4 separate regions of the Homo sapiens genome follow, and all the other regions are linked to region 1. The links are contacts of gene promoters, found by promoter capture Hi-C in blood cells and fetal thymus (Javierre and others, 2016). All regions are on one chromosome and are shown on one strand. Each heading gives the region's core, a stretch centred on a gene start or on the middle of the fragment in contact. The rest is flanking DNA. Distances are from core to core; before and after follow the strand shown. Region 1 holds the start of NOTCH1 (notch receptor 1). Region 2 holds the start of EXD3 (exonuclease 3'-5' domain containing 3). Region 3 holds the start of TMEM203 (transmembrane protein 203). Region 4 holds the start of UBAC1 (UBA domain containing 1).

Evidence for each region. Contacts are between HindIII fragments. The CHiCAGO score rates a contact against its expected background, and 5 or more counts as called.
Region 2: the fragment with the promoter of EXD3 here is called in contact with the fragment with the promoter of NOTCH1 in region 1 in 4 of 17 cell types (naive CD8 T cells, non-activated CD4 T cells, total CD4 T cells and 1 more); the score reaches 9.2 in naive CD8 T cells.
Region 3: a contact is called between the fragment with the promoter of TMEM203 here and the fragment with the promoter of NOTCH1 in region 1, in 1 of 17 cell types (activated CD4 T cells). The highest score is 5.3, in activated CD4 T cells.
Region 4: a contact is called between the fragment with the promoter of UBAC1 here and the fragment with the promoter of NOTCH1 in region 1, in 1 of 17 cell types (naive B cells). The highest score is 5.2, in naive B cells.

What each region holds. Positions count from the first base shown.
Region 1 is chr9:136,544,639-136,547,433 of GRCh38, reverse strand. NOTCH1 (notch receptor 1) reads left to right here and starts at 1,386. Exons shown (of 34, transcript NM_017617.5): 1 at 1,386-1,708. The coding sequence starts at 1,648. It overlaps MIR4674 (microRNA 4674), which reads left to right and starts at 1,175; the gene lies at 1,175-1,261. RefSeq lists enhancers at 1-529, 2,502-2,551 and silencers at 722-821, 1,162-1,721, 1,742-2,001, 2,222-2,271. The HindIII fragment of the contact is 3,030 bases long and covers 1-2,356 here.
Region 2 is chr9:137,421,832-137,424,626 of GRCh38, reverse strand. EXD3 (exonuclease 3'-5' domain containing 3) reads left to right here and starts at 1,465. Exons shown (of 22, transcript NM_017820.5): 1 at 1,465-1,513. It overlaps NOXA1 (NADPH oxidase activator 1), which reads right to left and starts at 1,234. Exons shown (of 14, transcript NM_001256067.2): 1 at 921-1,234. The coding sequence starts at 1,097. RefSeq lists silencers at 1,004-1,563, 1,584-1,723, 1,734-1,873. The HindIII fragment of the contact is 6,751 bases long and covers 1-2,283 here.
Region 3 is chr9:137,204,182-137,206,976 of GRCh38, reverse strand. It overlaps TMEM203 (transmembrane protein 203), which reads left to right and starts at 1,329. Exons shown (of 1, transcript NM_053045.2): 1 at 1,329-2,795. The coding sequence starts at 1,563. The coding sequence ends at 1,973. It overlaps NDOR1 (NADPH dependent diflavin oxidoreductase 1), which reads right to left and starts at 1,277. Exons shown (of 14, transcript NM_014434.4): 1 at 1,065-1,277; 2 at 668-745. The coding sequence starts at 1,199. RefSeq lists a silencer at 1,314-1,573. The HindIII fragment of the contact is 6,239 bases long and covers 1-2,785 here.
Region 4 is chr9:135,960,010-135,962,804 of GRCh38, reverse strand. UBAC1 (UBA domain containing 1) reads left to right here and starts at 1,432. Exons shown (of 10, transcript NM_016172.3): 1 at 1,432-1,780. The coding sequence starts at 1,643. RefSeq lists silencers at 1,283-1,692, 1,703-1,822 and an enhancer at 1,312-1,812. The HindIII fragment of the contact is 10,703 bases long and covers 1-2,795 here.

The DNA.
Region 1 (2,795 bases), core at 137-2,636:
GCCTCCAGGCGCCTCCTCTCCTGGGGCGCTGACCCCAAGATGTTACCCCAGGCCTGCAGAAGTGAGGCCAGATTCTGGGAGGACGCAGGCGAGGGAGGCTCCCAGCAGCAGCTACAGGGGCGGGACAGGCCGCCTGCACTGGCTGTTTCCAGAGTGCTCAGCATTTGGCAAGAGGTGTGCCAGGAAAGGCTTGCTGGGGTCAGGTGTGAGATTTGTCCTGCTTTCTGTGCCTGCCTCTGCCACCATGCTCTGGGGTTTCTGCAGCCCTCCCCCCAGGCCCCCACAGTCCTAGGTCCCTCCCAGCCTTTCGGTCTCCCCGCAGGGCAGGCTTAGCCCTCCTACTCCAGGAGGGGCGCCGGGACACGCGCCTTCTGCCATCGCACTCACCACCCTGTGTTGGGGTGGGGAGGGGGCGCTGTCTGTCCCTGGCACGAGGCCGTGAACTTTGCGCAGGGACTATGGCAGGCATTTTGGACTCCTGGCGCTTAACCAGGCTTGGCACAGGGTGCCCGTGCCTGGCATCGTGGTGGAGAAATAAATCAGCCGGAAGGAGCACGTGGGAAGGGCTGCGCCGGCGCCAGCGGCAGATCCGCCCGACCCGTTTGTGCTTTCTGGGGCCACCTTAGGCAGGCGGCGCCCGGGCAGGAGGAGGACGGTGACCGAGGAGCGTGTCGACGCGGGTCCCCCTTGGGGGAGCGGGGCACAATCCGTCCGCGAGGCACTGGTCCCGGCTGCTCCCTCGGGGCGCCCGGAGTCCCCTGCCCAGAGGCCGCGGCGCCCCCATCCCTCGCGGTCAAGTGCTCGGGCAATCACGGCCAGGGATGTCTGGCGGCGATCGATCCTCTGGACGCCTAAAGCCGCGGCCACGGGGCCCTCGGGAGGGAGTGAAGCCGCTGGGCTAGGGGCGCACACACGGCTAGGCCACTCTCCCAGAGCCCTGCCCCGGGCCCGGGGTCCCCCAACGTGGCCTCAGCTGCTCCCCGCCCGGCCCAGCGCACGGTGCACACGGCTGTCCGCGGCCTCGCCCTCCCCATTCCGCCCCGGGCTCCTCCGCTTATTCACATGCAAATTTCAGTCGCCAGTTGTCGCCGAGCGCGGCAACCGCCAGAGCCGGATCCTTCCGCAGCCCCGGCTCAAACTTTTGGCCTCTGAAAACTTTCAAACGAGAAGTAGTCCCAGGCGCCCGCTCCCGACCCACGCCGCGCCGCCGGGTCCCTCCTCCCCGGAGAGGCTGGGCTCGGGACGCGCGGCTCAGCTCGGGGAGGCGCAAAGGCGGACGGGGCGTGCGGGAGGAGGTGGCCGCGGAGGGGGCGGGGGGACCGGCGGGGGTGGGGCCGGGCGGGGCGGGGCCGGCGGGGGCGGAGCGCACCTCGACTCTGAGCCTCACTAGTGCCTCGGCCGCGGGAGGGAGCGCAAGGGCGCGGGGCGCGGGGCGCGGGCGCGGGCGCGAGCGCAGCGAAGGAACGAGCCGGGCGCGGAGCCGGGCCCGGGGGCCTGCGAGAGCACAGCGCCGCCAGCCAGCCGGGGAAGAGAGGGCGGGACCGTCCGCCGCCGCCCCGGGACCGTACGCCGCGCGTGTGCGTCCCAGCCCCGCCGGCCAGCGCAGGAGGCCGCCGCCCGGGCGCAGAGGGCAGCCGGTGGGGAGGCATGCCGCCGCTCCTGGCGCCCCTGCTCTGCCTGGCGCTGCTGCCCGCGCTCGCCGCACGAGGTAGGCGCCCACCCACCCGCGAGCCCCCACTTTCCGCGCCCTTTGGAAACTTTGGCGGCGCCCGGCGCGCGCGCCCCACGGCTGGGAGCGGGCGGCGGGGAGGCCAGCATGGAGAGGGAAAAGCGGGCGGCCCGGGGCGTGGGGTTCTGGAGTCCCGGGATCAGGGAGGACCGACCTTCCCCCTCGATCCCCCCGTGGAGGCGGACTCGCGCCGCCCGTGCCTGGAGCCGAGTTAGGAGGCCGGTGTGGGGTGCTGGGGCCCCGGAGGCCCTACTCCGGGCCCGCCCTTCACCCGCCGCGCGTGGGGCTTGCCGCCGGTCGGCCGGGCGGGCGGGCTGCCTACTATTTTTCGATTTGAATAGAGTCGGTTTTGGTTTCCTGTTGCTTCTCCGGGCCATTTATCTTCTTTCTTCTTCGCCTCTGGCCCACGCCGGGGCGGATGTTGGGGCGCGGAGTGTGGGCTCTGCGGCGCCGCGTTCGCCTTCACTGACCCGCGCGGCCGGGCTGGGTCCCCGGGCTCCCGGTCGCCCCGCCCGCCGGTGCCCCCCAGCCCGGCTCTCAGTTTGGGGGAGGGGTTGCGTAAGAAGCCGCCGCGCCCGGGGGGACTGAACTTTCCTTTTGCTTTGCGGAGTTGAAGTTTGGAAAGCTTGGGGGCGGAGAGCGGGACGCGGGTGGGGGGCTCTTACATTTCTCCCCGCCGCACAGCGAGCGGGGTCTCTGGGGAATCGAGTGATTAATCCACTCTTTCTCCGAGAGTTGGAGGCGAGAATTATCTGTCCTCTTCCAGAAAGTGCGGCTCTGTGTCACACCCCCCTCCCCCGTTTCTCAGCCCCGGTAAGATGGGGAGGGAGGGGCTTGAGTAATTGATCCCTTCTCGAGATGGGGTCGAATTCCTTCCGAATGGGGGACCTTCATCCCCCTCCTGTGGGTGTATGGGGGCTGCCCTGGAGATGCGCGCCCGCGGAGGCAGGTATTGGGTGTCGGCGGAGGCGGGGCCGCGTCCCCAGGGTGCTGTCCCGGTGCCCCTGGAGGCGGCCCCGACTCCACAATGGGCCGCTCTGATTCTGAGGCGGAGGCCGGCGCTTTG
Region 2 (2,795 bases), core at 216-2,715, 880 kb before region 1:
TTTCTACTAAAAATACTAAATTAGCCAGGCGTGGTAGTGGGCGCCTGTACTCCCAGCAACTAGGGAGGCTGAGGCAGGAGAATTGCTTGAACCCGGGAGGCAGAGGTTGCAGTGAGCCAAGATTGGGCCACGGCACTCCATTCAGCCTGGGTGACAGAACGAGACTCCATCTTTGAAACAAACAAAAAAATGAAATCATTATGGAGGTGATTGTAAATTTGTACGCAGCTTTAAGACACAAGAGAGGGGGGTCTCATGCGCTTTGCCCAGTCTCCTCCAAGGGGGATATTTTGCCAGTCAGGGGCGTGGAGACCCTCCCACAGCGCGCAGTTCCCTCTCCTTTAAATCACTGCTGTCACCGAGCCTTCAGTAACCGTGGGCACCTGCCTGCTTCTGCGGGGTGCTTGGGACTGAGCGGGGGTGGGCAGCGCTGGCGTTTGGGATGCGCAGGAACAGGCGGCCCCGGAACGCGAGGGGGCACGAGAAGGGCACCGGGCTCCGTGCAGGGCCTCGGCCGCTGCACCCTGGCACCCTGGACTCCTGGCTGTTTCGGGGAGTGGGCTGGGGGAGGGCTGAGGGCTCTGAGGAGGAGACTGACCCGGTCTCCCGGCCATGACCACAGGCGCAACGCTTTCCCCTTAGGGCAGGGCGGTCCCTCGGGCCTGACCCAGCCCAGCAGCTTCCCCCTTCCCGGTGTGAGTCACCCTCGGGCCCCGGCCTCTCCCGGTGACCGCCGCGCCCCCCAGCGCGGCCTCGCTTAGCTCAGGTGCGGCCCCCCTGCTCGGCTCCCACCTGCCGGGGCGTTCGCTGGGTCGGGGGCGGCAGGGCGACCCCGTGACGGTCGGGGAGGGGCGCTGGGCCCTCCCCAGGGGCTCGAGGCGGAGGCGTCGCCCGCACCGGCCTCCCCACGCCCCGCTCACCCGCAGCGCGGCCTCGGGGTCCCCGGCCAGCAGGTGCACGCAGCCCGCGTTGAAGCACAGCCTGGCGGGCGGCGCCGGGACGCCCGAGAAGAGGTGCAAGGCGCGGGCCCAGTCCCCACGATCCACAGCCTGCGCGCCCAGGTGCCAGGCGCGCACCAGGTCCCCCAGAGAGGCCATGGCGGCCGGTGGCGGCGCTCGAGGAGGGGCCAGGATCCCGCGGAGGGGCCGGGGCCGGGGCCAGGCGGCGGCGCGGGGCTGCGGGGTCTCCGAGGCGGGCAGAGGTGCGGGCGCCAAGCGCCAGGTGCAACCCCGCTGCCCCGCGGCGCCCCCTGGCGGCAGGCGCCCGCCCCTCCCCGGTAAGGCCACGCCCCCGCCAGAAACGGCTACGCCCACTCCAGACCCTCAGGCCTCGCCCACCTCCCATTCGGCCCCCGCCCCGGCCGGACTTCCGCCGGGAGCTTTGTGCGCCCGGCTTCCTCGCCCCGCCCGCGCTGGCCTTGGTGCGCCGGATAAAGCCCTCCGGGCCAGCGGCTGCGGTCGGGCCAAGGTTCCGCGCCGGGCGTGGACGGTGTGGGGCGGTCCCGGCCCCGCAGGTGAGCGACCCCGGGCCGCGCGGGCCAGGTGGGCGGTCTGGGCGCCGGGGGCAGAGCGGGGCCGGGCCGGGTGCGCGTCCTGAGGTGAGGGCCGTAGCTGGGAGTGAGCCGGGGGCGGGCCGCCGGCTCTCCCGGGGTGGGGAAACTGAGGCCCCGATGGGGCGGGGAAGGTGCGTTCTCCCGCAGGGCCCCGCTCCGGAGGCCGCCGAGCAGCCGGACGCCGCGGGGAGCTGAGCCGACCCCGGCGACCCCGCCGCCCTGTCCCGCAGGGCCTGCCCTCCTCCGCGCCTTCCGAGCACGGACATCACAGGACCCGGAGGCCCTTCGCTCCCTCGCCGAGGAGGAGGCGCTCCCGGTGGGACGCGCGCGCGCCCGCCCTGCCCTCCCCGGGAGAAGGGACGGGCGCCTCCCTGCAGGGGCCCTGGCTTCCTGTCCACCGGCGCTGAGTCCTGTATTAGTTGTCAACCTAAAATAATTAAAAGGGTCAGAATGTGGTGCCCGGTGGGTTTATTCAGGCACAGAGGTCGAGGGCGGCCTGGGTCACCAGGTGCAACGGAGAACAAAACAGAGGCTCAGGTTTTTAAAGAAAACAGAGCCCATCGGAGAGCAGGTGGTTTCGAACGTTGCCCAGGAGCTCACTGGCTTGTAGAAATGGCATTGGTTCGCGATTGACCACGGCTTGGTGTCATCAGTGGATAGTTACTTGGCTCGAGGGGTAGTGAGGGGCTGCGGTTTCATTTGAAATGCTTTCTGGCACTTAACATCAAGCTTTCTGGGCCCACAGTTTAAAAGGGCTTTACATTCCTCAGATAAATGATTTTTTTCTTTCTCATTTGCCCCCCTTTTGATCAAAATCTTTCTTCTTGAAAGCATTGATTATCAAAATCTGAGGGTCAGAGTGTCCCCTCTTGCTGGGAAGGCTCATTCCCACATAGTCCTGTCCCATGCCAAGCAGGGAAGGAGGAGACATTTCAGGGAGTTTTTTTTTTTTTTTTTTTTTTAAGAACACCACAAACTGAATTGGAATGGCATTACAGGGTGGCAAACATGAGGTCTCAGTGAAGTCATTAATTTATACAACTGCTGTCACCTGTTGAATCATCTCTAGTTTTTAGAAACACCATTAATTTTAATTTTCTCAGAAGTAACACATAGGACTATAACCAATTTGTATGCCAGGATGAAAAAAACAAACCTGTTCCATTAGGGAGACAACTAAAAACATGAAGAAACTAAAATCCATGTTCTTCTTTCTTTTTATTTATTTGTTTACTTAGAAATG
Region 3 (2,795 bases), core at 80-2,579, 660 kb before region 1:
CACTTTTCACACAAACCAAATCATCTTTTTCCTCTGCGCTGACTGCTCCTTCTTCCTCGGTGCCTGACTAGCCCTCACGCATCCTTCCGTGACTCAGCTTACACTCTTTTCTTCCAGAAACCTCTGCCTGGGCCCCAAGGTTGGGTGAGATAAGGCTCGATGCCCCTTATCAGTGCTCCTGTGACATATGCTACTTTCCCCAGCAGCAGGTGTTTGCTGGCACTGTCATTGCCCGTTAGCTGCTTCTGCTACAGTGTGAACTCTGCCAGGATGGAAATATGGCTGCTGGGTTCACAGCTGGATCCCCAGCACCAGACTGTGCCAAGAATAGAATATGTGCTTAAAAGATGGTCAGAGAATTCAGCAACGTTCCCTGAGGGTCATACAGTCTAGAAATACACACAAGACCCAGACTAGATGCACATATAGATAGCCCTGGAAAAATAAGAAAGGTTAAAACGGATAATAAGGCTATTTGGTGGCTACGACGAGTTTATTAGAGAGGGCAACCGGAGCCCCCAGCCCCACTCACGGACGTTCTCTCAAATCCACCTCTGAAGGTGCATGAGATAAAGGAGAGCTATTTACTGCACCTAGACGCCAGGCAATGAAAACGGGGTGAGGGTCGAGGGCAGGGATCTGAGGAGCCACATCAGGCCAGCCTTACCTTCATGTTGTCAGGGGGGTCTCCTTGGCCTGTAGTTGCACAAACAAATATCACCAGGGGCTCGTTAATCAGATTCACCTCAACAAAAAGACACACACACGTAAGACCTCCGGCTGTAAGGACCGGGCGTCCTTCCCAAAACTTGACCCCCTTCTCCTTTACTCAGGCTGACAGGGCAGAGGGATTTATGTGAGCAGCCAGACCGTCTTCTCTTTCAGGTTCCAACCTCCTCCAGGTGCTAAACTGAACTCCCCTTCCCAAACCTCCTTCCCTAAATCCGCCATAAGGGAAAGACCCGCTCTCAGAGAAAATGCGACGCCTTTTGGGTCGATGACCCCGCGAGGCGGGCACGCCAGGCCTGCTCGTCCCCCACGCCGAGGCCCTAGCGAGCCCTCACCACCGGGTAGGAGTCCAGGGCCTGCACCCGGCAGCCAAGCCGCCGGCGCCGGGCCTCGCGACCCAGTCTCTCCGACACATCCTGAGCCGTGCCTGTCTGGCTGCCGAAGAGCACCAGAAGCTGCGGGCTCGGCATCGGGGTGCGCCCGGTGGTCTGGTCTGAGACTAAAAACTAGAAGGCAGTTCCCGCCGGCCGGGTTGCAGGGACCGCTCCGCCTTCCGCCTTCCGCCGTCGACCGGAAGTGACGCACTAGGGACGCGCCCTGTGGGGGCATGGCGTCCGATCGAGGCGGGCGTTCACGGGCGGCCAGGGTTGAGTCCCGGGTCGGGGCCGGGGGATTGCCGGCGCATCAGGGCCGAGGGCTGGGGCTGGCGGGGCCGCTCGCTGCCTCTCGCTCGCAGCAGCGGCGGCAGGCGCGGGCGAGGGCCACGGGGAGAGGAGACGCAGCCCCGCGGGTGGCACGCTCGGCCGGGCCCCGGCCCGCGCTCAACGGGCGCGATGCTCTTCTCGCTCCGGGAGCTGGTGCAGTGGCTAGGCTTCGCCACCTTCGAGATCTTCGTGCACCTGCTGGCCCTGTTGGTGTTCTCTGTGCTGCTGGCACTGCGTGTGGATGGCCTGGTCCCGGGCCTCTCCTGGTGGAACGTGTTCGTGCCTTTCTTCGCCGCTGACGGGCTCAGCACCTACTTCACCACCATCGTGTCCGTGCGCCTCTTCCAGGATGGAGAGAAGCGGCTGGCGGTGCTCCGCCTTTTCTGGGTACTTACGGTCCTGAGTCTCAAGTTCGTCTTCGAGATGCTGTTGTGCCAGAAGCTGGCGGAGCAGACTCGGGAGCTCTGGTTCGGCCTCATTACGTCCCCGCTCTTCATTCTCCTGCAGCTGCTCATGATCCGCGCCTGTCGGGTCAACTAGCCTCACCGAGGTGCCGGAGAGGGAGCGCTGGACAACTAGAATGTTGACCTCGAGCCGAGGCCCTACTTGCAGCGCACCGGAGGAGAGGCTCTCTAGTCTGAAGGCACCGCCGGCTTGCGCCGAGCTGAGTGCCGGGTTTCCCTATTCCAATCCTGTTTGAAATGGTTTCTTCAGCAGGGCTTAAAAGAGCAGCCTTCATCCTGAAAATGTATTTCCTTTTGTTTAATGCTTTGAGTAGATAATCCTGAATTGAGGTCATGAGGAGGCCCCCCAGGCCAGACAGTCCTGAACCCCTCTGACACTTGGAAACTGAATATAAGTAAAATGTCCAGGTGGACTCTGAGTATTTCCTGTGGATCCTGGGAAAGTACTGTTGCACAAAGGCTGCAAAGCTGGACTCAGGAATGTCCTCCAACCAGCAGCGCTGACCTAAGAGCTCCCTGTGCCGTCTATCCAGACCAGACTTCGGTAGATGCCTTTGTTAGATCTATCACATGTAAACGAGCTTGTATCTCCTTCCCTGTGCCACGAGAGAGATTGGCTTTTTATTCCAGTCTAGGCAGAGACAGAAGAATGTTGAATAAGAGCACGATTAGAGTCCTGTCTGGTTATCTGTTGCCCAAGAAAAGAACTCTGCTGTCCAGGCACTGCTTGGCTTACTATCCCAGCAAAGACTGCAGTTTTGTGGACTTTTGACCACCTTGGGCTGGCACTCTTAGCACACCTGAGACAGATTTAAGCCTCCCTAAGAGACTGAAGAGAGGAACAGGTGTCAGATACTCATAGGCACTGAGATCTACAAATGGGAAGCTTGTGAGTGGC
Region 4 (2,795 bases), core at 183-2,682, 580 kb after region 1:
CTGCTTCCTGCGTTAAAAATGCCCCATTCCAGGACTGTATCCTGGTGTCTGGTCTTAATCACTACCATATTTTCATTGAGTAGCAGAGGCTCCCACCTGTGAGAGGCAATTAGTAAGTGCTGAACTGGACACATGGAATCTGGACGAGGTTGGAATTATCACAGGAGAAAAATGAGGATGTGTGTGCAAAATGGTGTGGACAGAATAAAAGCCTGCAGGCAGGAGGCAGAGACAGCCTCCCCGGTTAGATTGCTAACCTCTGAGAACGGGAACTGTGCCTTATTCATCTCTGCGCAGTAAAGTTTTTTTAAATGAATGGGATGAATGAGTACAGATCAGTCAATGTGTCAGGTCTAACCTGAACTACAAAATTCATATTTAGGAGCATGGTAAGTAAGACGTTATCCAGGACTGTTGAGCTAGGTACAGAGACCACTGCCAAGGGGGCTTGCAGTGGGGAGAGAGGTCAGGCTCAACTCCCAATACAGCAAGGGCAAGTGGGTGGGGTCAGTGAATGGAAAATTAATAGGAGAAAACATCAGGGATGTGGGCGGTTCTGGCTAAACCGACCTGACAGGGTTCTTGCTGAAGAGAGGCTGGAGATATCAGACAGCACCTGGGGGACGAGGAACCTGACCAGACGTCCAGGGTGATCTGATATTGAGGCTGGGAGTTCTTGCTAAACTCACTTATCAAGGCTCTTCGCTAAAACTGGATTTTACAAGGAAGTGTACAGATGATGTAGAAGGTTCAGGAGCCTGCTTAAGTTTGGCCAAGCAAAGACTCTTTGTCACACCCCACAGAAAATGAGTCTGCCTGGCATCACCTGCACCAAGGGCGGCTTCCCTCCCCTCTGGGTGCCCCGCAAACCTAGGCTTCGCAGGAACAGTGACTCTCTGATCTGCGTGTGAATTAGAAAGACCTAGGCTTGTTAAAGCCAAGTTCTTTGGAGAGCCTCCGTTCTACAGCAGTGCAGTGCAAAAGAAATATCACAGCAGCCATGTAGGCAATTTAAAATTCTATCTTAAAAAGGTTAAAAGAAACAGGTGAAATTAATTTTAATGACATATTTTTCTTAACTCAATAGATACAAAATATTATTTCAACATGTAATCAATATGAAAACATTATCGAGATGCCTTACATTCCTTTTTCCCGTTACTTCTTTGGGATCCAGCGTGTATTTTACCTTTAGAACCCATGAGGTCCCACGTGGTGAGTGCCCCGGGTGGGAACCGCCTGCAGCTCGGGGAGGAACGAAGCTACCAGAGAACTACAGCTCCCGGCATGCTCCGGGCGCGCCCCGTGACGCACTTCCTTTGCGGTGGCCACAGCGCGCCCCCGGCGGCGGGAGCGAGGCGCCTGTCCGAGAACCACATCTCCCGGCATGCGCCAGACGCGCCCGTGACGCACTTCCGGTGCGGCCGCGACGGCGCGCCCCCGGCGGCTGCTGCGGCGGCGGGAGCGAGGCGACCGCTGAGGCCGCGGAGAGTGACGGCGGCCCGGCCGACGGGAGCCGGGGCGGGGCGGCGGCCCAGCGAAGGAGCGCGCGGGCGGTCTGGCCCCGCCCCCTCCCCGCCCGCCTTCCCGGTGACCTTCAGGGGCCCGGGTGGCGGGCGCAGGCCCCTGCGGCGGCGGCGGGATGTTCGTGCAGGAGGAGAAGATCTTCGCGGGCAAGGTGCTGCGGCTGCACATCTGCGCGTCCGACGGCGCCGAGTGGCTGGAGGAGGCCACCGAGGACACCTCGGTGGAGAAGCTCAAGGAGCGCTGCCTCAAGCACGTAAGGCCGGGCCCCCTCCCCTGCCCCCAACACCCGCTCCGGACCCCTCCGACTGCGGACCCCGCCTCAGTCCCCGAACCGCCCCGACCTGGGGTCCGCCGCCCAGTCCGCAGCTCCCAGGCCCTCTCCTCCGGGGGTGGAGGCAGCGCCTCCTGCCCGTTTGCCCGACTCTCCCCCTTTCGGATCCCACACCTCTGGACGCTCGTCCCGGGCCTGGCCTTTCGGCCGGCGGACTCCGGTCACTAAGCGCTCGCCCCGTGCCAGCCGCCCGGCCGAGCCCTGTACACGCCAGCCTCTCAGTTAACTCTGCAGCCACGCAGGGAGGTAGGGGCAGATCGGGAAACTGAGGCCTGGAGAGTGAAGTCGCCGACGGAGCAGGGCCTCGGGACTTTCCGGCAGTTGTACCTTTTTGCTGTTGGGGTGAGGTTTTTTTTCAGCAGCATCTTTGAGAGCTGAGAATTAACGTAGGCTCCTTCATGAAGAGGCCCCTTCTCCTTCCTCTTCCCCTTTCCCGCAGAGCCGGCTGCTTGGAGCTCTTTTCCTGGCTGGCCCCAGGCCACTGTGCCTTTTAGCTGGAGTCCCTGAAATAGTGCCGCTGCGGGACAAGGCCCTGCGCCCCTGCTTTTCTGCAGAGGTAAAATTGGTCAAGAGAGAAGTCCCAGGAGTAGGGTCTCCTCGCGGAGACACTTTTTAAAGTTTATTCACCTGAAATACTCCTGTGTATTTAGTTCCTTAGGTTGCTGATTTTTGGAACTAGTTCTCGAGTCTCTAAAGGACTCAGTAAGGTCAGCTAAGAAGCCTGTCTGTGTGTCAGACTGACCTCCTGTCTATACCTGACATGATCTGAGGGCTTGGCAGAATTTAGGTTGAAGGAGGCTGCAATTTTCTAGTGGCGACTCCATGTGATAAGTTACGACGTATCTGTGTTGACAGGTTGAGTGCGTTACACTTGAGCTGAGTGTGGTCTCTAAGGATAAACTTCAGTTCTTACCATAGTAGCTGCTCGCATACAGTA